Regions from separate parts of the Homo sapiens genome. Here all the other regions are linked to region 4. Evidence: promoter capture Hi-C in human tissues and cell types (Jung and others, 2019). All regions are on one chromosome and are shown on one strand. The core of a region is centred on a gene start or on the middle of the fragment in contact, and the rest is flanking DNA. Distances in the headings are between cores, read along the strand shown.

Evidence for each region. The method cuts DNA at HindIII sites, captures the fragments that hold promoters and counts their contacts. A contact is called where the count stands out against the background at its distance.
Region 1: a fragment that was not itself captured here is called in contact with the fragment with the promoter of FARP1 in region 4 in 1 of the 25 tissues and cell types used here (dorsolateral prefrontal cortex).
Region 2: a contact is called between a fragment that was not itself captured here and the fragment with the promoter of FARP1 in region 4, in 1 of the 25 tissues and cell types used here (hippocampus).
Region 3: a contact is called between a fragment that was not itself captured here and the fragment with the promoter of FARP1 in region 4, in 3 of the 25 tissues and cell types used here (dorsolateral prefrontal cortex, lymphoblastoid cells and mesenchymal stem cells).

The regions. Positions count from the first base shown.
Region 1 is chr13:97,867,785-97,870,484 of GRCh38, forward strand. No RefSeq gene overlaps it. Among named protein-coding and RNA genes, the nearest start is that of IPO5, 85 kb to the right of the region's middle. The HindIII fragment of the contact is 6,591 bases long and covers 1-2,700 here.
Region 2 is chr13:97,839,940-97,842,711 of GRCh38, forward strand. No RefSeq gene overlaps it. Among named protein-coding and RNA genes, the nearest start is that of IPO5, 110 kb to the right of the region's middle. The HindIII fragment of the contact is 3,919 bases long and covers 1-2,772 here.
Region 3 is chr13:98,464,549-98,467,248 of GRCh38, forward strand. STK24 (serine/threonine kinase 24) reads right to left here. Exons shown (of 11, transcript NM_001032296.4): 6 at 1,828-2,013. Among named protein-coding and RNA genes, the nearest start is that of FARP1-AS1, 30 kb to the left of the region's middle. The HindIII fragment of the contact is 4,204 bases long and covers 1-2,700 here.
Region 4 is chr13:98,141,721-98,144,420 of GRCh38, forward strand. FARP1 (FERM, ARH/RhoGEF and pleckstrin domain protein 1) reads left to right here and starts at 1,374. Exons shown (of 27, transcript NM_005766.4): 1 at 1,374-1,772. LOC105370328 (a long non-coding RNA gene) reads right to left here and starts at 2,190. Exons shown (of 3, transcript XR_931670.4): 1 at 2,119-2,190. RefSeq lists silencers at 825-874, 1,115-1,424. The HindIII fragment of the contact is 5,274 bases long and covers 1-2,700 here.

The DNA.
Region 1 (2,700 bases), core at 117-2,616, 270 kb before region 4:
GGAGCCAGGTACCAGGAGGGCAGGGTGTAAAAGGTAGTCACCTGACTCTCCACTGAGCTGTTTTAACACTTAGCCATTCACAGACAGCAACTGCTAAAAGAGCATTAATTGTAACACACCCCTAGACGCTACAATGGGGCCAGAGGCCAAAAGCACTCGTCCCAGCTCCTGCACCTGCCCATGTGTGTGCTCCCCCTCCATAAGGGGTTTGAGTGCAAGAGCAAACAAGCCCACACCCCTGTCACAAGTCCCTCGAGGGGGTCAGGGAACTCTCCAATTTCAATAGTCCTGGAATCCCAGAGGCCTCTGCTGATAATGTCAGAGCACACATCCCAGTCTGTCTTCACATCCAGAGTTTAACTCTAGGAGGAAGGAAGTCCTGGAAGCTTGTCATGTTGGGAAACAAGGGGTGAAGGGAATAATAGACAGCAGTAGTGATTCCCAAGCTGAGGTAGCAGCTTTTACAAATCCCTGAGCCAGGAAGAAACTTAATCAGATTGGAGAATGATTAGTACCACAGTTCTGCATCGTTAGAGTACCATAGAATGGAGGAGTTGGCCATGGGACAAGGCAGAAGATTAAAGAAACAGGCAGAGGCTGCATTTTATTTTAAGGCAATTGTTCTCCCACTAATTTAATGTGCATCAGAATTACCTGGAGGACTTGTTAAAACTCAGGGGGCTGGGGCCTACTTTACTCCCAGAATCTGATTCAGTAGATCTAGACAGGGCATGAGAACAATATTTATAACAAGTTTTCGGGTGCTGCTGATGCCACTGGTCCAGGAAACACACTGAAAATCGCTGCTCTAAGGGGCTCCTACAGTATCCTGAAGGCTTGCAAATGGAAAGAAGTAGAGGCTCCAGGAGCTGTGATGGAAAGGTCTTGAAGAGCGTTTTGAATCTGTAGAGGGCAAGGTCATGACTGAGCACCAGGAGGGTGTGGGGGAGTTTGAGGAGGGCAAAGGCATTCGGAAACAGGTGCTGGGTTCATAGCAGGGGCGGCTGGGTAGTTTTAAGGTGTAGATGAAGTTGGAGATGATACATGTGTAATGGCAAACTGTTATCAGTTGTCTGACTTTCCCCAGCAGGAGTAGGAGGTGCAAGGGTAAGAAAGGAGAAGGGGAATAGTGGTTTAGATCCAGGATTAGAGTTTTCTTGATGGCTAAATATAAAGAAAGGGGAGATGGCCGGGCACAGTGGCTCACACCCGTAATCCCGCACTTTGGGAGGCCGAGGCAGGCGGATCACGAGGTCAAGAAATCGAAACTGTCCTGGCCAGGATGGTGAAACCCCATCTCTACTAAAAATACAAAAATTAGCCAGGCGTGGTGGCACGCGCCTGTAGTCCCAGCTACTCAGGAGGCTGAGGCAGGAGAATTGCTTGAACCCAAGAGGCGGAGGTTGCAGTGAGCCGAAATCACGCCACTACACTCCAGCCTGGGCGACAGAGTGAGACTCAGTCTCAAAAGAAGAAAAAAAAAGAAAGAAAGGGGAGACAAAACAAGTTGGAATGTTGGAGTGTGGTGTTTGAGCTACTTAGGAAAAGACATTACTACCGGTGGGTTCTGATAGACTGATGGGAAATTAGGGCCTGGAAGTGTAGATGAGATCAAAGAAAAGGTGTTGTGGTTGCAAAGGAGGGAGAGCATTGGAAGGATAAGTTGTGGATCAGAATGACAGGTTAGGACCAAGATTCCAGGGGTAGAGAAGTTTCAGGCCAGGCAGGGGCAAATGGATGGGCTCCCAGGGGTTTGCAAACCCCTTGCAACTTTTGGGGAAATATCAAGTGAGGTCTGAAAGATCATTTTCTCCCTGAGAGAGGATTCATAACCTCAAAAGTGTTTCTGAGCCATAACTGACTGAGACTCAGTGGCCGTGTGTATCCCCAGAAGAGGGTGACAGAACTGGAGTTGAGGTGAAGGCCCCCGGGTTTGAGGGGGCTGGAGAACCGTGGAGCAGGACTTCTGGTGGGCAGAAGACAATAAGACAAGAACCAAAGTCCACCTGCAAGTAGACACATTACAGAGATCAGAGAGGTGGTTGTGACAGTCACTGAGGATGGCAGTTATCAAAGTATCTTGCAAACAGTAAAGCATTTCTAAATCCATAAAGGTTATTTTTTATTATTATAATAACTTATTTTCTGACTACTAAAATAAAAATTCCCCCTTTGGAATTTTTTAAAATACAGAACTGTAAAAAAGATAACTAAAAATTATGTAACTGCTCAAATTAAGTGATCACTGTGAATTATAGCAGATTTAGGGTAAAATGACTATGAGTGATGACAGCCGTACTGCCTTTCACATGTGATGCTCGGACCTGGAAAACCAACAGCCAGACCAAAGCAGCTCAAAGTAGCTAAGCCCTCTGGGTTGGGCTCTCTGTTCATGCCCAGGAGCCACTCGAGCTCACTCCTCCAGCAAGAGAGGCTTCTGTTTGACAAGAACATTCATTTCTATTACAGAATTATAAATACAAAGAGTGAAAAAATAGTGCCTATCAGTCTCCAACACATCAGAGTTGTCAATTAAACAGATTTCATCCTAGTTCTGGTCTTTAATTGCTGACATTTTAAATTTTGCATTATATTTCTGTGCCCACCCCATAATCTCACTTATCGTTAAAAAATTAATTTATTATAAAAGTCCTGTTTTCCAGCACAATGGAGACTAGTCATTGGTTGGTTTGTTAAGGT
Region 2 (2,772 bases), core at 35-2,534, 300 kb before region 4:
GTTTTTGTCACATATTTTGCTTCTACATATTTTTATCCCTTTATATTGTTATGATTCTTGCCAATATTCAAACATCTGTCTGAGTTCATATTCACTGGAGTCCAAATGAAGCACCTGAACAGGTTTTAATGAGAGATGAAGATAGGAAGAAAGCTTGACAGCTAGGTGAATAAACACCACACCAAGGAATAAACAGGGCAAAAGGAGACTTTTCCTATTTTAAGCTTTTGGGAAAGCAAGCTTAGCCAAATGCTAACTATTTGAGAAAACTCATCTGTTTCCCCTTTAGACTGCCCAGATTTAAAACGCTGGACAGTACACTTACAGCATTAACCTTTGCATTTTAAAGCTACAAGAATAAGGCAAGGTGAAGAGAATATAAGATCATAGCTTTATTATGAACTAGTTAGTTAACTAGTTAGCTTGAAAATCAGCTGATTTTAAGAAGCAGGTAAGCCACTGATGTGACACATTAGCCAAACAAGTAGTTAATTGAATGTGTATTCTTCTTTCATTTTTTCAGATCTTATGTTTAATGTCATATAGGTCTATTACTTTCAGAGACCAGACCAAATTTATAATAGAAATGTAACAAAGTTAAAAATAAATGAAAGTTTACCAAATGTGATCCTATAAACAGAATTGTTTATTCTTCAGGAAATTTTACAATAAACTCCTTGAGCTATAAGACAGAAATTTGCAAAGAGATTCAATAAATATAAAGCCTCCTCTCTCTTACCGTCCTTTATACCCACTCCTACCCTTCCATTTGTCTGGACTCCAAAACGCAGAACAGGAAGAGATTGGAGATCCACCAACTCCACGATCTTGGCAAGACTTCAGCAGCCATAGGGTCCAGGCTTAAGTACCCATGTTCCCGAATCTTGATGACATCTTAACACTTCAAGAATTTTTGGCATAAAGGAGCTATTGTAAGTAGAAAGTCTTGGAAATATTATTCTACAAAAATTTGTTTACCACAAAGTTAAAAGTTTTCTGTAGATCACCTCATTTCTGTGAGGAGAAATATTTTCTAGTGCACAGATTTCTAATAAGCTTCAGTGTCTTTTCCACTCCCTTCTCACTCCCCTCTCCTTTTCTCCCCTTCTCTATTTCTCTCTATGTCTCTTTATTTCCTACTTCTCTTCTTTAAATAGAATAGTGGTTAGGAATACAGACACTGGATCCAATTCTCCGAGTTCAAATCCTAATATTGTCACTTATCAGTAGAGTGACTTTGGCCACCTAACTTCTCTACTTCTCTGTGCCTCAATTTTCTCATCTCCAAAAGTGAGGATAATTGTTCCTACCTCATTAGAATGTTAAGAATATTAAATATATAACATATTTTAATATTTAATATATAAATATATTAAAACATTTAAAACAAGCCCTGACAGTAAATTCTCCATGATTAGCTATGATGATTATTATTAGTGATAATAATCTTTATCATTATTTAAGTGAGAAATATTTACTCCCCTGGAAGGCTGTGGGAGAGAAACCACCAAGTTTCTCTGCATTGCTCTCCCACTCAGCTTCCATTCTGACCACTTACAGGTGTCATAAGTTTTGGGTCCCCCACAAGAGACACTCTCTGAGCAACCTTAAGCCTCCAAGAACAGAGCAGAGGCAAGAACCAGCTTGTCAAGACTGTGCACGGAAGAATGGACCCAGATTTGCAGCAAACATTTTATATCATCTTATACAGTCACTTTATTTCTCCAATTTTTTTTTTTTTTTTTTTTTTGTGACGGAGTCTAGCTCTGTCACCCAGGCTGGAGTGCAGTGGCGCGATCTCGGCGCACTGCAAGCTCCATCTCCCGGGTTCACACCATTCTCCTGCCTCAGCCTCCCGAGTAGCTGGGACTACAGGCGCCCGCCACCACACCCAGCTAATTTTTTTGTATTTTTAGTAGAGACAGGGTTTCACCGTGTTAGCCAGGACGGTCTCGATCTCCTGACCTCATGATCTGCCCGCCTCAGCTTCCCAAAGTGCTGGGATTACAGGCGTGAGCCACCACACCCAGCCTATTTCTCCAATTTTCAAACTTCCTTATCCATGACATGAAGCGTTTGGAATAAAATTATCCCTAAATTCCACCCCGCACCATGCTACCTCAAATTCCATAATCTATTCCATGTATACAGGTTTCTTCATATTTGCAAAATACAGAATACATGGGGCATTGAGAAGTGATTAATTCTGACTTGGTTGGGGAGTTGGCAGGAGAGGTGAGCCTCCCACCTTCCTGTGGGCAAGCTCACATGGGTTACAACCTATTGAGCTCCTGACAACTCAACCGCACCCACCAAGAGGAAAGCGCAGCAAGTGCACCGTGGGTTTGCTGGGGCAGCAGGGGCCTTTCCATGCAACGCTCCTTCCAGCTGTCTTACAAGAAGAAATACCAGGAGCACATCACAGCACTAGAAAATAAGGGTGCCCCCTGTCCCCACTACAATTATATGTACGCCTCTTTCTATTTTCCTCTTCCTCAACGCTCATTTCCCTTTCTCTTTTTTCTGCCTCTCCTCAGCATTGCTTCCCACTGCTGCTGACATTTAGGACTGAAAGGCTGCAGCCACTGTGGTCGATAAACATCTGTCCACCCAGCCTTTCTTTCTCATTTGATGGGCATGTTTCTCATTTATATGAAGTTACATGCACAATTTTGTACAGATAAGTTGTACAATGTTGAAGAAAAAATAACAAGGAGAAGAGCAAGAGAAGAAAGAAAAAGAATTATCTATACTCCTACCACCCAGGTTTTT
Region 3 (2,700 bases), core at 164-2,663, 320 kb after region 4:
TGCAGTGGCACGATTTCGGCTCACTACAACCTCGCCTCCCCAGTTCAAACGATTCTCCTGCCTCAGCCTCCTGGGTAGCTGGGATTACAGGCCTGCACCACCACACCAGGCTAATTTTTTGTATTTTTAGTAGAAACGGGATTTCACCATGTTAGCCAGGCTGGTCTTGAACTCCTGACCTCAGGTGATGCACCTGCCTCGGCCTCCCAAAGTGCTGGGATTACAGATGTGAGCCACCATGCTGGGCTGCTTTGTTAACTTTCTGTATTAACGTTTGGCCACATCCAACCATATAATAGAAATGTCAATTTGGAATTATCTCAGAGAAACTGGAAAGGAGCCAGGAGATCCCCTTTTTCCTGTCTGCTGAAAGAGCAACTGGATGCGCTTCACCACCAACTTTCCCGGTTTAGAAGGGCTATTTCCCAGGTCCCTCCCTCCCTTCCCTTGTGATTGGGCTGAGGACTTCACCCATGCCCTGGGCTCAGCATGGCCACCGCAAGCAGCACCTGGTCAGCTGCCTGCCTTGAGGATGGCGATAGTGACAGGGAATGTGCTTCCCAAGGAAACCAGCATGGCCCAAATGGGAACAGACAGCAGGAACACCCAAACACCGAGTCGAACCAAGTTCCCACTCACTCCAAATTACAAAAGCTTGATTACAAGAGCCAAGCATGTTTTCAGATTCAAACTCATGAGAAACGTGGATCACCTCAAGTATTCTCCCTCCCTGTCCATCCAAGGGTGAAACCCCAACTACCCCGGAGGTGCTCATATTCTCGCCTCTCAGCCAGCTCCTCGGTAGCTGTGGGGTGGAGCTCTGTGTGCTGGGGCATAAGCCCATACAGGACACATGCTTTGTATGGGAAGACATGCCTGCACACATCTCCACTGGTGCTGGTGCATGATGGCTGCAAGAAACATCATCGTGTAATAAAATGCAGAGCATCGTGGCATGCAGGACAAGCCCCACCACCACCCGATGCTGATGTAGTCATCAAACACTGGTGTGGTGGTCTCAGCCTGCATCTCCTTAGACGTACTTAGAAAATGTTGCATTACCCATTTAATTCCTTTACCAGAACTGGCATATTAGGAAACCATGGTGCTCTTGTAAAAGTAACCACCCATTTTTACATAAGAGTTAAGAAAAGGGGGGCTCAGCTTAGCCTTCAGCTAACTCTGCTGGAAAACTCAGAAACAAAACAAGGACATATGGTGCTACCTCCAACACCAACACACACACACTACTTTCAAAGAAATGTCCTAATTCAGACAGAAAATGAGGCAAAGCCACACAGTCGTTACTGCTGTATGGCTCTGCCAGAGTCTATTAAACCTAAAAAGAGAAAGTAGGCAGGAAGGGGAGGGGAAGAAGCACAGAGGGTGGCTTGGTTATATTTTCTAATCTTTTGTTTCCTAACACATGCCACCTGGAAAGTGAAAACATTTACTTTAAAGACATATTTAGCCATTTGTTTCCAGCTAACCTTTGCCATTATTAAAAACAGTGTAACAGTTTATGGCCTGATCTTCTATAAATATTAAACATTTATGATTCCACATTTAATATTAAGGAGAATATTCTTCAGATTCAATGAAGTATGAGATGGCAGAAATCTAAAAGAAAATAAGGAGATTTTTAATACTTAAAAATTAAAATGTATTTGCAAACCAAAGAAGTCAATCATACTTACTTAGAAAAAGAAAAATGAATAATACCAGGAAGACAGCTGAAAAGAGTGATTAAAGCAATCCCAACAGGATGTATCTCAACCAAGTCAAGCCGCACATGAAGAGGTACGCTGTGATCCCTGGGAAACTTACAAAGCTCGGCTCCTTATTCAAACAGGCCTCCACAAACTCCTTGAGGGGTTTACTGTAGTTTCCTTCCAACGTCGGTGGGTTGTTCTTTGGAATGAGGAATAAAACTTTCATGGGGTGCAGCTCGGAATGAGGTGGTTCCCCTCTTGCAAGTTCAATAGCTGTTATGCCCAGGGACCAGATGTCTGCCTGCAACAAGAAAAGCATCTTTACAAACACCAAGCAGGAATCTATTCCAATACACAGTATTTAGGGGGAAAATGGTAACATGTCTCAATACTTCTGAGGTTTTGAAAAAGGTATTTTTAACTGATATTTAAAAACATAAGCCCTCGCTGTAATTTCAAAAGAGACAACAGGAGAAACTGTAATATGCCAAATGTTTTCTGCCTCTACATGGAGATGGCTTATCAATTCACTCCTACTACGCCTCCTGCTGGATGCATTCGGCATTCCCCGTGGAGTCCCGGGGGCCAGCAGGACCAGTAAGAGAGGTGAGCAGAGAGGAGGAGTCCGGAGTGGGTGTACGCTCGCGAGTCACCCCCTCCAGCAGTGCTTAGAACTTAGGGCACAGCTCTGAGGTCGAGAGTGGGCACCTTGGTCTCAAGATACCTGGGTTGAAATGCCAGTTCTACAGTCAAAGTCCTGTGACGTTAGATGAAAGAGCTAACCTCTGAGCCCTGTTTCTCTCATCTGTAGAATGGAGGTGGAAGAGGAGGAGGTGGCCATGTAAGGTGCCTTACCAGGGGCCCAGAACTTAAAAAAGTTTATTATGAAAATGTTCAAACATACAAAGAACTGAGAAATATTAATATAATGCATCCTCATCTACCTATTGCATGAATTTACTAATTAACATTTTGCCATACGAGCTTT
Region 4 (2,700 bases), core at 124-2,623:
AGATGCTTGCTAAGGTTTCATTAGGTAGGTCGGGGATGCGGCCCAAGAATGTTCATTTCTTGACGTTTCCAGGGGCTGCTGGTGGTGGTCGTGGTCTGAGAACCACACTTAGAGAATCACGAGCAGAAAAAAATCTGATCTGTGACACACAGCTGGTTGGGCTGACAGAGCAAAGCCTCAAACCCACCATTTCTTCTCTTCAACCACAGACCACCAAATCTGCAAGTATTACATCTCTGCTCCTCCCCAGGAGCTGCCCACAAGCACCCCCTACTTCCAAGACCCCTGTTCTTGTCTCAACCCGCCCTTCTATCAGGGTCCCTACACTCCACTTCTGCCCAGCTCCTGTCCAGCTGTGAGTTCACTTGAGGCCTCTCCCGTGAAATCTGCCCTCTCGGTCTGAGGTCAGGGAACTCCTGTAAGACGCAAAAGGCCCACGGTTCTGAGCCAGTGGCCTCCGAAGGCCGGAATCCGCTAGCCCCGGGTCTGGCAGAACGTCACTTGCTGCGCCCTAGGCCTCTTCCCGCCACGCTTAGAGAGAGGGACTGGAGGCTCAGAAGGGGGAAGAGAAGGTAACGCGGCAGCTGCTGGGTGGGGACGGTGACTGTGCCCCTAGATCGCTGCCTCCTGGGTCCTGAATCTTGCTCCCCGCTCCGTAGAGTTCCCGAAACCCCGAAGGCTCTCAAGCACCGCAAGCCACTCCTAACCTCCCCCACGCCATTCCCCAAGGGCACTGTCCCCCGAGGCTGGGCGGGCGGGAACTGTCATGGGATTCGCTCGGGCGGAGGGCGCTGGGCCAGGACGTGGGCGGGCGCGGGGTGGCCGCCGCTCCCCCAAGCTTAAGTCCCGCGCAGCCCGGGGTGGTGCCGGAAGCCCGTGCCTGTGGCTCCGGGGGAGGGGAGGGCTCGGTGGGTCCCTGAAGACTGTCCTCCCCGCGCGACGTCGCAGGCGAAGCAGCCCCAGGCAGGACCTCAAAAAGCGACCTGCAGAGTCCGAGCCCCTGACCGCCCGCCTGCCGCTCCCGGCTTCGCCGTGCACACGTCTCCCGCTCTCCCCGGTTCGTTTTTCGCCACAGCTGCTGGATTCGCGTCTCGCCAGTGGCGCTCCCCGCGCTGCATTAGGTAGCGCCGCGCGGAGCCCGGCCCTGGCCGGAAGCCCAAGAGAGGCGCAGATCCCCGGCGGCGCGCTGGGCTCGGGAGGCCCCTGGGCGCACCTGCCCGGGCGGAGCGGAGCGGGGCGGGGCGGGCGCAGGGCGCGGGCCCGGACGCTGGAGGGGGCTGTGGCTCTCCCGCGTCCCCGCTGCTCGGGCTGCGCGGCGCCCGCCTCCCCCCGCCGAGGGGCCGGCCCAGACCCGGGGAGGGGCGGTGGCCACTGCACTTCCCGCTCGCCGGCCTCAGAGGCGGCGGGTCCGGCGCGGGCGCAGCGGTGCGGGCGCTCGGCTGGGGCGCGGGGCGGGGACGCGGCCGCTGCCCGCTTTGCGCCGCTCCTCCCTGCGCGAGTAGCGCTGGCCCCGGCGTCGAGGCGGCCATGGCGACCCGGAGCCCGCTCCCCACCCACCCCGCCTGCTCCGCCCTCCCCTCCGCCCCGCGCCACCTTTGATGGCTCGGACCTCAGCCGGCCACCGCCAGCCCTGCTCGCGCGCCCGCGCCGCCGCCGCCCGCGGGTATTAATAGCCGGCGCCGCCGCGCCCTCGGCCGCCGGGGGCTTGGGAGCCGCCGATCCCGGAGCCCGAGCCGGGAGAGGGAGCCGCCGCAGCCGCCGGCGCTGTGGAGGTAGGAGGCGCGCGGTGAACAATGACCGCGGCGGGAGGGCGGGGGCCGGCGGGGTCCGGGCCGCGGGCGGCAACTTGTGCGAGTCCAGGCTCCCGCAGCGCACGGCCGCGGCTGCGGGCGAAGGTGGGCGCGTGGTCCCCGAGGTCCTGCCCTGCGCAGTCGGGCGGCGGGTCGGGCCCGGGCAGCCCCGGCCACCATCGCAGGAGCTCGGGGGCCTCGGGGCTCCGGGCTGCCCCCTGCGCCCCTCTCCCCTCACCTCCGCCGACGTCGGGCTGCGGGGCTCCGCGCCGGTCCCCGCTCGCCTCCCCCGACCCCGGCGCCCTTCCCCCGTTTCCTTCCGTCCTACCCGCCCGCTGACAGCGCTGGACGCCGCTTCCGGACCTCGGGCCGCAATCTCGGCCCCTGAGGCCGGTTGCGGGCCGGGGAGGTGGCCGCTGGCGCGGATGCCGCCGGGTGCCCGCCGCTCGCCCACGCGCGGCGCGAGGGTTCCCGGCGGGTGACAAAGAGGAACACACCCTCTGCCCAAGTTAGATTTGTGTCTCTCTTTACTGTCTGCCTTTATGCAGGGCAAAGTTTTTTTTATTTTTTATTTTTTAAAGCAAAGGACAGATTGCTTTGCGGCGAGTATTTCCAAACAACTTCTGATTGTGGTTTTACGATTCAAGTTCCGGAAACTTTAGCTGTGTGATCCGGCTGGACCCCGGAGACTCTGTGTGTGTGTGTGTGTGTGTGTGTTTTATTTGAGGGGGGGAAATACGAATTCCCTGTAATGAGTCTGGATCTCGTTTGTGGCAGCTGGAGGCCAGCGGCTGTTGGGGATCGAGTAGGGTTCCCCAGAAAGGAGGGAGCTGAGGCTCACAAAGAAGCGAGGCCCTGGTATCTGATCAGTTCGTGGAGACGTGGGAGAGCCTGCTTGTCATCTGGAACA